2 separate regions of the Homo sapiens genome follow, and region 2 is linked to region 1. Evidence: promoter capture Hi-C in human tissues and cell types (Jung and others, 2019). All regions are on one chromosome and are shown on one strand. Each heading gives the region's core, a stretch centred on a gene start or on the middle of the fragment in contact. The rest is flanking DNA. Distances are from core to core; before and after follow the strand shown. Region 1 holds the start of HPS1 (HPS1 biogenesis of lysosomal organelles complex 3 subunit 1). Region 2 overlaps R3HCC1L (R3H domain and coiled-coil containing 1 like).

The links. The method cuts DNA at HindIII sites, captures the fragments that hold promoters and counts their contacts. A contact is called where the count stands out against the background at its distance.
Region 2: a contact is called between a fragment that was not itself captured here and the fragment with the promoter of HPS1 in region 1, in 1 of the 25 tissues and cell types used here (aorta).

Annotation. Positions count from the first base shown.
Region 1 is chr10:98,444,363-98,450,725 of GRCh38, forward strand. HPS1 (HPS1 biogenesis of lysosomal organelles complex 3 subunit 1) reads right to left here and starts at 2,573. Exons shown (of 20, transcript NM_000195.5): 1 at 2,445-2,573; 2 at 938-1,042. It overlaps HPS1-AS1 (HPS1 antisense RNA 1), which reads left to right and starts at 1,959. Exons shown (of 3, transcript NR_134454.1): 1 at 1,959-2,395. RefSeq lists a silencer at 2,391-2,740. The HindIII fragment of the contact is 14,922 bases long and covers 1-6,363 here.
Region 2 is chr10:98,185,022-98,191,534 of GRCh38, forward strand. All of the region lies in intron 4 of R3HCC1L (R3H domain and coiled-coil containing 1 like), which reads left to right. Among named protein-coding and RNA genes, the nearest start is that of R3HCC1L, 54 kb to the left of the region's middle. The HindIII fragment of the contact is 3,649 bases long and covers 221-3,869 here.

The DNA.
Region 1 (6,363 bases), core at 1,323-3,822:
TGTGCCATGGCCCTCTGCGTGCGGCAAACCCTCGATCTTCTAAAACTTGGGGCAGCCTGACCAGGCTGGTGAGGACAGTGCTCCAGGCTGGCTGCTGCAGCTAAGAGGCCTCAGGCAGTGGTTTCAAATCCTCTTATGTGCCTCAGGGTGTCACGCAGATATAATCATGTGGTATGTGCGCTAAGCCATGACAATGATTAGGAAGCTCTGCTGTAACTCTCACACAAGTGGATTTCCAGTTTTCTTGGGAGGATCACAGCATCTCCAGGTCTTGTGTTCCGTCATCCCCATGTCCAGCTTAGTGGTCCTTACTGAATTCCTCCCAAACTAACTTGGTGCAACTGGTCCCAAGGTATTTATGGCAAATGCCAGGAGACATAACAGCACAGTGAAGAAGGAATGCAGCCTATTCCCACAGAATTACTCAATGCCAAGGCAGACACTGAGAGTGCAACAGGTGTGAAAAGGAGGTTGCTGGGAGAGGCGGGTGGACCTGAAGAGGCTGCTCTGGGACTCCCAGGTACATGTGACAAAGCTGACCAGAGTGTATGGGTTAGGGAGCAGTGGGCTATGGAATGGAGGCTGTGGTTGTGAGCGGAGAAGTGACCGGCTGGCTGGAGATGGGCAGGTCAAGGTCATGAAGGCGGTCATCTAGGTGCGGGTGTCAGGTAATGAGTGCTCACCCCTTGGTGGGGGCTGGGAGGAGCTTTAAAGATGCAGCAGGCTGTGATGACCTGCCTGGATTCGAGGGGTGAAGGAGAGATGAGGCATCAGGATGGGGGTGGCCTCAGGATGCAGGGCTGGGGAGGGGATGAGCAGGTGTGCAGAGCCCAGTAGCACTCAGTCCACTGCCTACCTCATTCCATCTGCCTCCCAAAGCCCCAGGGTGGATGCTGCCTGCCTCCCTGTCCTCCCCAGGTGGGGCAAGATCATCTACCTTGGCAAGCACAGTGGAGCATCCAGACGGCCAGAGGTTCAGAAAGGGCTGCAGCAGACCGACTCGGTGACTGGCTCATGGGAGAGCAGCACAGCATCCCTGGTCCTGCAAATGCTTAAAACAGAGAGAATATGAGGGCAGGCAGATGCCCTGGTCTTGACTGCTGCCCGTTGAGAAAGGACAAGCTGGAGAAGGGCTGCGTGGTCCCTGGTCTCTCCAGGCCCTGAGGCAGTCTGCTAAGAACATATCTGGGATCCTGCCCCTCACCTCCCATAATGGAGAATAGGAACCCGGCCAGCACAGCCCTTTGCACAGAGCAGGTGCCCACTTTTGTTCCTTCCTCCTTTGTTCCCATGAAGTGCTCTCACTTCTGCGGGTCACTCAGAGCTCCCCAAGCAGCCCCAGGGAGCTTGCTAGGAGTGACTGACGGGAGACAGCATAGCACATCCCAGGTGGTGAGGATGCAGTCCCGGTGAAGGGAGTGGGGATCCTGGGATGATACGATGAATGGAAGGAAACTAACAGGAAAGGCATCTGGGACCAGGTTCTAGTTTTGGCTTTGCCAAGTCCCATAAACCTCTCTGAGCCTCAAACTCCTGCGGAGAAACAGAGCAACATCCCCTACTCTACCTCCCTACAGGGTTAGATCATGGGAGTGACCAGGCAAGCTGCAAAGTAACCTTAGCAAACTGCGTTCTTACATAGGTGTGGGGATCATTATTCCTATTTCCCAGCTTCCCTTCTTCAAATAACAGGATTAATCAATCTGGTTCCGGAATCATTCATATTTGAATAGAGGGCAGGAACAACAGAAAACTTAATTAGGAAGTCAAGCACTGTGAGCCAGTAAGAGGCAAGTGACTACCCGCCACAGAGACTGCTGTTACGAGTTCGGCCTTTAGCAGCCGAACCCTGAGACGGGCTCCATCACCCACATGATTGGCCCGAATGCCATATTCCCGAAACAGGGGGATGCTTCCCAAAGGCTGCTGGGAAGAGAACCTCGCCGGTGTCACACTGAGACTTCCGCTTCACCTCGCTATCTTGCCCTAGAAAGGGAACTCGGAGGGGACTCACTGACGAAAGGAGCTCCAGATGGCGGGGGGCCAACCTGGGGCGACCCCCAGCGCCCACTTTCACCATCTGGACCCCAGCAAACCTCCCTGTGGCCCTTGGTCCCGTCTTCAGCAGCTCCTTCTGGGGTCCCACACCTTCGGAGCCCGGCCCTGCCCCTGAGTCTCTGGAGAGAGCGAGTCAGCAGTTCGCCGCCGCGGGGCTCCCGTTTGCCTAGCACGCCAGTTTCTGTCCAGTTTCACCCCAAATCCCCACCTCCCCCCACCCCCGAACCTCACGGCCACCCTGGGAAGGAGGCTTGACTTGTGACATCCACCCCTCTTCACGGCTGAGGAACTTTGGCCCCGAGCGAGGAAGCGACCGGCCCACGGCCACACGCCCGGAGTGGGTGAGGCTAGGAGTGGGCCCGCTCCGGGACCCCTAGGGACCCTACCTCACTTCCGGGAGGGTTGAAGGGGGGCTCCGGAGGGAGGATCGCCGCCCCCAGAGGGGACAGCCCGGAGGCCCACGTACCGGATCGCGGCGCGCACAGCGCCCCGCCTGCAGGAGCCCGGGCGCGCTTCCGGGTAGGACCGCGTGATCGCGCACGTGACCGCCCGCCCCGGGAGGGGCCGGAGCCGCCGTCGCCTTCCGCGGGTTCGAGCCCCGCCCCTGCCAGGCCTTGCCCATGCCCCATTTTACAGAAGAGGAAACGGAGGCGCAGAGAGAAGAAATAACTTGCTGAGGGTCCGAACCAGGCTCAGAACCCAGGTTTCCTGGCTCCTCAGCTGATCCCTTCTCTCCTCCCCATGCCCCGGAACCTCAGGCTTTGCCTAATGAACTGAAGTTCTGGGGCTAGAGCTGTCCTTTTGTGACTGCTCTCCCTGACCTTTGGGGAGGTGACATAGCGCACAGAAGGGCTCAGTTGCCCCCAGAGTGCCAACGCTGGAATTTATAGGAGTTCTCAATCTATTTTGGGAGTGGAGTGCACATTAGGAGTTTTGTGTTGAACCTATGTTTGCAATATTTATTTTAAAAAATCGTATGTGTATTGGGGGTGCCTGGAAGTGGAGGGGGCGCTCTGGAAGGGCCTAAATCCCCGAACAGTCCACCCCTCAGTGCCTGGGTGCCACCTGGGAGCTTTGAGCCCAGCCCAGCAAGGTATGGGTTGCAAGAACTGGCTGGGGATATAGTAGATTGAGCATCTCTTGGGGGAAAGGCAGAGGCTAAGAATCAATACTTCCACCACCTGCAGATCAAAGAGAGCATCACTCCCCCCAACCCACTACCCACCCCTTCCAGCCCACCTTAGGGCAAATTCTTCCAACTCCCCATCTACAGCACATAGCCCTGCCACACGCATCTCTTTGCTCAGCCCACCGTTGAGATCGTTCACTCACTATGCTTTCAGTGGTCGAATGAATTCCATCAAATGGATATGCTGTTATTTACTTATTCATTCCCCTACTGGTAATTTCCATTTCCCAACTGCAATGTATGAGGATTCTGATTTCTCCACATCCTCACCAATGCTTGTTATTGTTGATTTTTTTTTTTTTAAGTATAGTAACCCAGCGTGGAGTGGTGTCTTGTGATTTTATTTGCACTTCCCTGACGTTCGGCATCTTTTCATGTGCTTTTTGCCTATTTGTGTACCTTCTCTGGAGAAATGTCTATTCAAATCCTTTATCCATTTTTAAATTGTCTTTATTATTGAGTTGTAAGAGTTCTTTATATGCTCTGGTTACAAGCCCCTTATCAGATACTTGATTTGCAAAAGTTTTTTTCCCATTATGTGGCTTGTCTTTTCACTTTCTTAGTGGTATCATTTGTAGCACCAAAGTTTTACATTTTTATGTAATCCAATATAATCTATTTTTTAGTTATGTACGGGTTTTTTGTGTCAACATGTTTCTTTTTTTCAAATTTGTTTGTGGTAAAATACATATAATGTAAAATTGATCATTAAGCATTTTAAGTGTATTGTTCAGTGGTATTAACTACATTCCTAATGCTATGCAGCCATCACCACCATCCATCTCCACAGCTCTTTTCATCTTTTAAAACTGAAACTATATCCATTAAGCAATAATGCTGGCCGGGTGTGGTGGCTCACACCTGTAATCCCAACACTTTGGGAGGTCAAGGCGGGCGGATCACAAAGTCAGGAGTTTGAGGTCACCCTAGCCAACATGGTGAAACCCTGTCTCTACTAAAAATACAAAATTAGCAGGGTGTGGTGGCACACAGCTGTAGTCCCAGTGACTCAGGAGGCTGAGTCAGGAGAATTGCTGGTACCAAGGAGGCAGAGGTTGCAGTGAGCCAAGATCATGCCACTGCACTCCAGCCTGGGCAACGGAGCGAGACTCCCATCTCAAAAACAACAACAAAAACAACAACAACAACAATTCTTCATTCCTCCTCATAGCAACCACAATGTTACTTTCTGTCTCTATGAATTTGACTACTCTAAGTACCTCATATAAGTAGAATCATACAGTATTTGTCTTTTTATGACTGGCTTATTTCACTTAGCATAATATTCTCAAGGTGCATTCATGTTGTAGCATATGTGAGAATTCCTTCCTTTTTTCTTTATTTTTAAGCCTAAATAATACTCTATAGTCTGTATATACTACATTTTGCTTATCCATTTATCTGCTGATGGACAATTGGGTTACATCCATTGTGAATAAGGCCATTATGAACATGAGTGTACAAATATCTCTTTGAGACTCTGCTTTCAATTCTTTTGGGCATATACCCAGAAGAGAAACTGCTAGATCATATGGTAATTCTATTTTTAATTTTTTAAGGAACTACCATACTGTTTTCCACAGCAGCTGCATCATTTTACATTCCCAACCTGGAACAAGTGTTCCAGTTTACCCACATCTTTGTCAACACTTGCTATTTTCTATTTTCTTTAAAATTTTTATAGTAGCCATCCTAATGGGTGTGAGGTAGTTCAACATAAGTTTATATTTCTCTTAGGTAAATATCTACTCATGGGATTGCTGGGCTGTATGGTAAGTCTGTGTTTAAATTTATATTAAACTGCTGAACCATTTTCCAAAGTGGATGTACCATTTTACATTCCTTCTAGCAACACTGAGAGGTGTAATTGCTCTGTAGTCTTGTTAGCACTTGATATTGTCCTATTTTAACTTTAGCCATTCTAGTAGGTATGTGGTAGTATGTTAAGTGTTCAAATTTTGCCTATTTAAAAATTGGATTGTTTGTCTTATTATTTATTTATGTGTTTGAATTCAAGCCCTTTATTATATTTTTTTTTCCCAGTCTGTGGCTTTGTCTTTTCATTTTCTTTACAGTGACTTTTGAAGAGCAGAAATCTTTGTGCATTTTGTGTCCTATGTAAAGTCTCTGCTTAGCCAGGGTCACAGAGATTTTCTCCTGTTTTTTCTTTTTTGCAGAAATTTAATAGTCGTAGATTTTGTCTTTAGGTTCACAATCCATTTTGAGTTAATTTTTGTGTGTGATGTGAAAGAAGGTTGAGGTTTTAGTCTTTTGTGTGTGTGTGTGTGTGTGTGTGTGTGTGTGTTTTGTATATAGATGTCCAATTTTTCTAGAACCATTTGTTGAAAAAAAATATTTTCTCAGCCAGGCGTGGTGGCTCATGCCTGTAATCCCAGCACTTTGGGAGGCTCAGGAGGGCAGATCATCTGAGGTCAGGAATTGGAGACTAGCCTGGCCAACATGGTGAAACCCCATTTCTAGTAAAAATACAAAAAAATAAATTAGCTGGGCGTGGTGGCATGCACCTGTAATCCCAGCTACTCAGGAGGCTGAGGCAGGAGAATCGCTTGAACCCAGGAGGCAGAGGTTGCAGTGAGCCAAGATCGTGCCATTGCACTCCGGCTTGGGCAACAGGAGTGAAACTCCATCTCAAATAAATAAATCAATCAATCTTTTCTCCATTGGATTAATTATCATGGCACGTTGTCTCAAATCAGTTGACCATCTGTGTGTGAATCTATTTTTGGAGTCTATGTTCAATAAATTTAAAAGGAGTTTATTGATTTTCTTAGAGGCAGTTTTTGGTTGAATCAATTTTTATTGATCCTGTTTTTAAATTCATCAGTTTCTGTTCTGATAGTTACTATTTCGTGTCTTCTGTTTACTTTGGGTTTTTTTTTCTTCTAGAAACAGAGGCCACTGATTTGAGACCTTTTGTCTTTTCTAATGGAGTTGAGTGCTGTAGATCTTCCCCAAGGTCCTGCTTTATCAGCATCCCACAACTTTTTATCTGCCATGTTTTCATTTTCAATTACTTTAAAATGCTAATTTTTCTTTTGATTTATTTAGAGTATAGTTCAGAGGTCAGCCAGATATTTGAGTGTACTTTGTACCAG
Region 2 (6,513 bases), core at 795-3,294, 260 kb before region 1:
GATTTTGCACAACATCCATCTTTTACTTTGTTTTAATGGTGAAAATGACTTTCTAACTTTCTTCATCCTAAGCAGCACCTAGAAGTCCCATTTCTTTATTGAGGATGTCTATTGATACGGGATTTTTGATGGTTAAAGTATCTTTTAAATCTGTTCCTTTCAGTTTTTTCCTCCAAATTTGTATTTTTGTTTGTTCATTTATTCAATATAAAAAAGTCAAGTCTGTGCTATGTGTCTAGGCCCTGTGCTCAGTGTTGGGGGATATAGGGATGAGCAAGTACCCTTAATAATACTTTCTCTAATGAGCATATAGTTTAATGGGGAAGACCGGATAATTAAAGAGGTAATTATACTAAAGTAATGATAAGAGCTGTAGTAGGAGATGTATATGGAAGGAGGCACCCAGTCTTATCTAGAATGATTAGGTAAGGCTTCTCAGAGAAAGAACTGTGATGCAGACCTAAAGATTATGTAGGAATTAGGTTAAAGATGGCTGGGAGGCTGTAGGGAAGTAGAGTAGGTAGAAGGAAGAGATTATCCAGTAGCTAAGATGGAAAACAAACAAACCCACAGAACCAACATGAAGAGTTTGAGAATCTGAAAGAAGAGCCATGTGGCTATAAAGCATATGAAGACAGAAGTGACAGAAGGTAAGACTGGAGAAATTGGTTGGAGCCAGGTTAGAAAGAAGAGTCTTCTAAGCCATGTTAAGTTGATTTTATCATGAAAACAGTGGCAAGTCATTGAAAGACTTTAGGGAGGGTGACATCTGACTAGCTAATGGTTTTGAAAAAGTCATTTTGGATGGAAGGTGAAGAGTGAATGCAAAGAAGCAAAGCAGTTACCAAGACTAGTTAGATAGGTTACCTCAGTAATCCAGGCATTTGTATGTGTTGTTTTAACTTGGAGTAGTAGCATTAGAGATAGGGACAACCAGGCAAATTAAAGAGATACTCAAATGTGAAGATCAGTGGAACTTTTCCATTGGTTGAATACAGAGAGTGAGGAAGAGGGAAGACTTGGGATGTATCCAGTAAAAATCTTGGTATGTTTCTGTAGAACCTCCAAGTTTCCTTCCTTCTTTCCAGAGGGAGAGTAGAAGAAAGGACCCTTGGTTTACTTTCATAATTATCGTTTATGTATGGCCCAAAATTCATTGAGGCCGTGGAGGTAAGTCAGAAAAAGAGAAAAGGAAAAAATATCTAAGTAATATGTAAGTCATGGTAAATGAACTTCTCTTGCCTGATTGTCTTTGAGTGTTGAGAAAAACAGGACAGTTTGGTTCCTTCGGTTTTGATGTTTGGCTTATTGGTATATAAACAAAAAATCTGCAAACCTTGCTCTTTTGGAACAAAAATAGCATACAATTGATCTTCTCAAATAGCTGTTCCATGTAGAGAGACATTTAACTATATTTAATCATATAATTTCCTTGTTTTTTCCAGATGGTTTTACTCAGCATTTGGTGTGGTGGATCTTACATAAACCTTTAGAACTTACATTAGAGTGTTCAAGTCTTCTGAGACTCCAGAGTCACCTAAGGTAGTGACCATTGCCACTAACAGTTGTGACAAGTTTTATACACAACATTGCTGTGGGTGCCAATAATGTTTTTCATGGCAGTGGAGGGGCAAAGTATAGTTTTCAGAAAAAGGATGTTAGTGATAAACAGCTCTCATATGATTCAAGATTTCAGTGCTTAAGGTGGGAAAGTAGGCGTGAAGCTTATGAAGGCCATCAGTTTTCCTTCTCAGAATGATGTAGTTAAAAGCAAGTATGGTGTATTATTACAATGTTAGAGTTAGGCAGTCATGATTTAGAAATTTTTTGCTTTTTTGGGGGTGTACTGTGGGATAGAGTTGTGAGTAGCTAAATAGCTCAGGTATTAGTCAAAGCTGGGTGTGCATTCTGGTTTCTGTACTTAGTAAGTACAGATGTACAACCTTGAGTCTTCATTTATTTGTCTGTAAAATGGTGATAATAATTATATACACCTTGAAGAGTTGTTACAAAGGTTAAGTGAGATGATGTATACAAGCACTTAACCCAGTGCTTCATTCATTGACTTATTTGGTAGGGTACAAGTTTAAATTATATTGCCATGTACAGTTTGTTAAATCCAACATACTACAGATTGAGTAGCCCTTATCTGGACTGCTTGGGACCAGAAGTGTTTTTGATTTTGATTTTTTTTTTTGAATATTTGCATTATATTTAACAGTTGAGAATCCCTAACCTGAAAATCTGAAATCTGAAATGCTCCAGTGTTCATTTCCTTTGAGTGTCATGTCGGTGCTCAGAATGTTTTGGACTTTGGAGCATTTTGGATTGCAGATTTTCACATTAGGGCATATCAGCCATGTAAGGTTTTTATAATCTAAGAAACAGTCATAATCATAGGTCTCTTAATCATTTCTCATAATTGGATTATGTTTACATATTTCCCATCTGTAAAAAGGGCTAGTAATGTAAAAATACAGAGTATCAATTCTTTGATGGTGGCAGGAAATTATGGTTTACAAGAATGAAGTAGGTTTTTTGGATGGGGAGCTTAAGTCTGGCTCCGGTTTAATTTTGCTGTTATCATTAGTTTGCACATAAGGTCTCTTTCTATAAATAGATATGTATCATATATACAAATTGAGAAAGGTTTGCTTTAGTAGGAAAATAGCTAGTGAGTTGAGTCAAACAGATAAGATGTAACAATTCTTTTTTTTTTTTTTTTTTTTTTAAGAGATAAGGTCTTGTTCTGTTCTCCAGGATGGAGTGCATTGGTCTGGTCTTAGTTCACTGTAACCTCAAACTCCTGGGCTTAGGTGATCCTCCTACCTCAGCCTCCTAAGTAGGTAGGGCTACAGATGTGCACCACCATGCCCAGCTAATTAAAAAACAATTTTTTTTTGTACATATAGAGTCTCGCTATGTTGCCTAGGCTGGTCTCGAACTCCTGGACTTAAGTGATCCTCCCATCTTGGCCTCCCAGAAGTCCTGGGGTTATAGGCAGGACCCATTATACTTGGCCAAAGGAATTCTTAATGTTGTTCAAGAATACACATACCTTTTACACACACACACACACAATCTCAAATTAAGGAGAAACATCTGAATTGATACTGCTTTGTGCCAGGCACATTTGCTTTTGTGCTCATTTATTTAACAAACATCTTATTGAATGCTGTATGTGCCAGGAATGGTGCTGGGTATTGAGAAACTAAAAATGATAAGGTATTTCTTGCTTTCAAGGAGTTGTAGGTATGATTGTTAGTCAGACAAGCTTACAGTTTGGTATGGCAGTAGAGAGCGCAGAATACCCAGCCCGCATTTACTCAAGGAATATTTATTGAAAGCTAAAATATACAAGTATTCAGTAGGCATTCAGAGATCATTTAGAACTACATCTCAAAAGGAACAGCCCTAAGTCATCCTTGACAAGTAAGTCTTCAAATGGCAATGGAGACTCCTGTGTTTGGATCCATTATAGGATAGGCTCAGTGTAATGCTAAATAAGGCTAGACTGTAGAAAACTTCCTTATCAGCTTTGTTGAACTGGTGTTCCTTTGGCTTTTCATTTCTGTGCCTCAGTTATGTCTTTCAGAGTAGCTTTTGGAGAGGTTAAAGAAGGCAATTGGGGCTTCTCATCTCCTAACATTAAGTAATTGATATAGTTATTTATGTATTTTTTCCTATAAGATTGTTAAAGATATTTAAGTGGGGAGTACTAACCACACTGATATAGTCATATTGCCATAGGCATTTATGAGCACAGACATTGGTCTCAGAGTATCTAGATTAGGATCTAGATAATCCTCTGCCATATTCTAGTCCTTTGGCCTTGGTGGACACAATTTAACACCCTTGTTGCCTCGGTTTTATCATTGGTAGAATTGGACTAGTAATAATTCTACTTCATAGGGTTGTTGGGAGAATCAAATGAAATGTTACTATTTTGAACATAAAATAGTCAAGTGAGTTGTCAGGTGAGCAAATAAGATCTGATAAGTGGCCAAAATAAATATAAAGTTCATGTATTGAAGTTCATATATTTTGCTCAATTAGGAAGCACCTCAGATCCTTACTTAGAGGGCTTTTATTGTTACTTTGTATGTAATTTGGACACTCTGGAATTTGCATTGCCCTTTAGGTTGAGAGAAATAGAAATGCCTAGAGTAGCAATAAGTGACAGATGGTGAAGAGAAAGAAACAATAAAAATCAGGTACTCTACTAAAACAAAAAATAGTGATCTGGAGGTTGTAGTACAGCTGTGCATTGCATATGGGGTGAGGACAGCATTTCACAATGAAGAAGGCCTTGAGGCATCACCTTATACATGGCGCAGTTTGGCAGTTTGAACAGAACTGTTTGACTTCTCATTCTGCTTTTTACTAGTGATTCTGTTTCTTGCATGCCTTTTAGTAAGGTCTATCTATGTAAGGTCTCTCAGTGAGTGTCTACCTGGGTTAAAAGCTTATTTCTCTTTAGTTCAGATATGTTAAAGAGAAGACCTATAGAGTAATTTCTTTCACTATAGACTTTAATTTTAGAAATTATTGTCTTATTCTTTTAAATTGTAATATATATTTTGTATAACCTGGTTTGAATAGAAGTAAAAATGAATCTCCAAGCAGATACAGGAATTATTTTGTGTTTTCAAGTGTGAAATATATCATTGTATTATAATAACTAGTGCAAGTGCATTTACGGAAGGATGCATTAAGAAAACTACAGCAGAATCAGTTGTGGTTCATTAGCAGATTTTATAGTTTTTAAAATATGAAGCCATTTCTCTGCTGTCCAAGTATAATTTTTTATGTTATTATATCACACACAAGTGCCTCTGTGCTGTGTTTGTGTTGAATCTCTTTTAAGTGAAGCGCCTGTGCAGGAGAAGGACATTTCTTGATTTCTTATTTGCAAATGCAGTTGACCCTTAGTATCCCTGGAGAATTGGTTCCAAGACTTTCCTTGGATACCACAATTTGAGGATGTTCAAGTCTCTGATATAAAACGGCAGTATTTGTATATAACCTATGTACATCCTCCTTTTTACTTTATATCATCTCTAGATTACTTATACCTAATACAATATAAATGCTAGGTAAATATTTGTTAGACTTCATTGTTAGGGAATAATAACGAGGAAAATCTGTGCATGTTCAGTACAGACACAATTTTTTTAACTGAATATTTCCATCTCTGGGTTGGTTGAATCCATAGACCCATGGATATGGAGGGCCAGTTGTACTGTACTTGTGATTGACATTGAAAGTGGGAAGACCTTGAAAGTGTGGAAAGGATTGGGTATATTTTTTATTTTATTATTTTATTATTCTAATTTTATTCTGTCAAAGAATCTTCCAATTTTTTACTCATGTTTTCTCTTTTACCTTGCTCTACAACCAGAATTACAAATTATTTGAAACAGAAAATATTTTCTATGCCTGTTGTATACTTTTCTGACATTGAATATGCTGTTTAGAATAGTATTTCAAAACTTTTATTCAAGTGAAATCAACTTAGTGAATAAATAGATCTTAAATTGTAAGAATTTTAAAAGCCTTAAATTGTAAAAAGTGAAGAAGAATTCTAGATTAAAAGTAATAGTAGTGCATATATTAAGGGTAAGTATTTTATGGACTTTTTTATTATTATACTTTAAGTTCTACAGTACATGTGCACAACCTGCACGTTTGATACATAGGTATGCATGTGCCATGTTGGTTTGCTTCACCCATCAAATTATCATTTACATTAGGTATTTCACCTAATGCTATCCCTCCCCCAGTCCCCCACCCCCCGACAGGCCCCAGTGTGTGATGTTCACTGCCATGTGTCCAAGTGATCTCATTGTTCAGTTCCTACCTATGAGTGAGAACATGTGGTGTTTGGTTTTCTGTCCTTGTGATAGTTTGCTGAGAATGATGGTTTCCACCTTCATCCATGTCCCTGCAAAGGACATGAACTCATCCTTTTTTTCGGCTGCATAGTATTCCATGGTGTATATGTGCCACATGTCCTTAATCCAGTTTATCATTGATGGACATTTGGGTTGGTTCCAAGTCTTCGCTATTGTGAATAGTGCCGCATTAAACATATGTGTGTGTGTGTCTTTATAGTAGCATGATTTATAATCCTTTGGGTATGTACCCAGTAATGGGATCACTGGGTGAAATGGTAATTCTAGTTCTAGATCCTTGAGGAATTGCCACACTGTCTTCCACAATGGTTGAACCAATTTACACTCCCACCAACAGTGTAAAAGCATTCCTATTTCTCCACATCCTCTCCAGCATCTGTTGTTTTCTGACTTTTTAATGATTGCCATTCTAACTGGCGTGAGATGGTATCTCATCATGGTTTTGATTTGCGTTTCTCTGATGACCAGTGAAGATGAGCATTTTTTCATGTGTCTGTTGGCTGCATAGATGTCTTCTTTTGAGAAGTGTCTGTTCATATCCTTTGCCCGCTTTTGATGGGGCTGTTTGTTTTTTTCTTGTAAATTTGTTTAAGTTCTT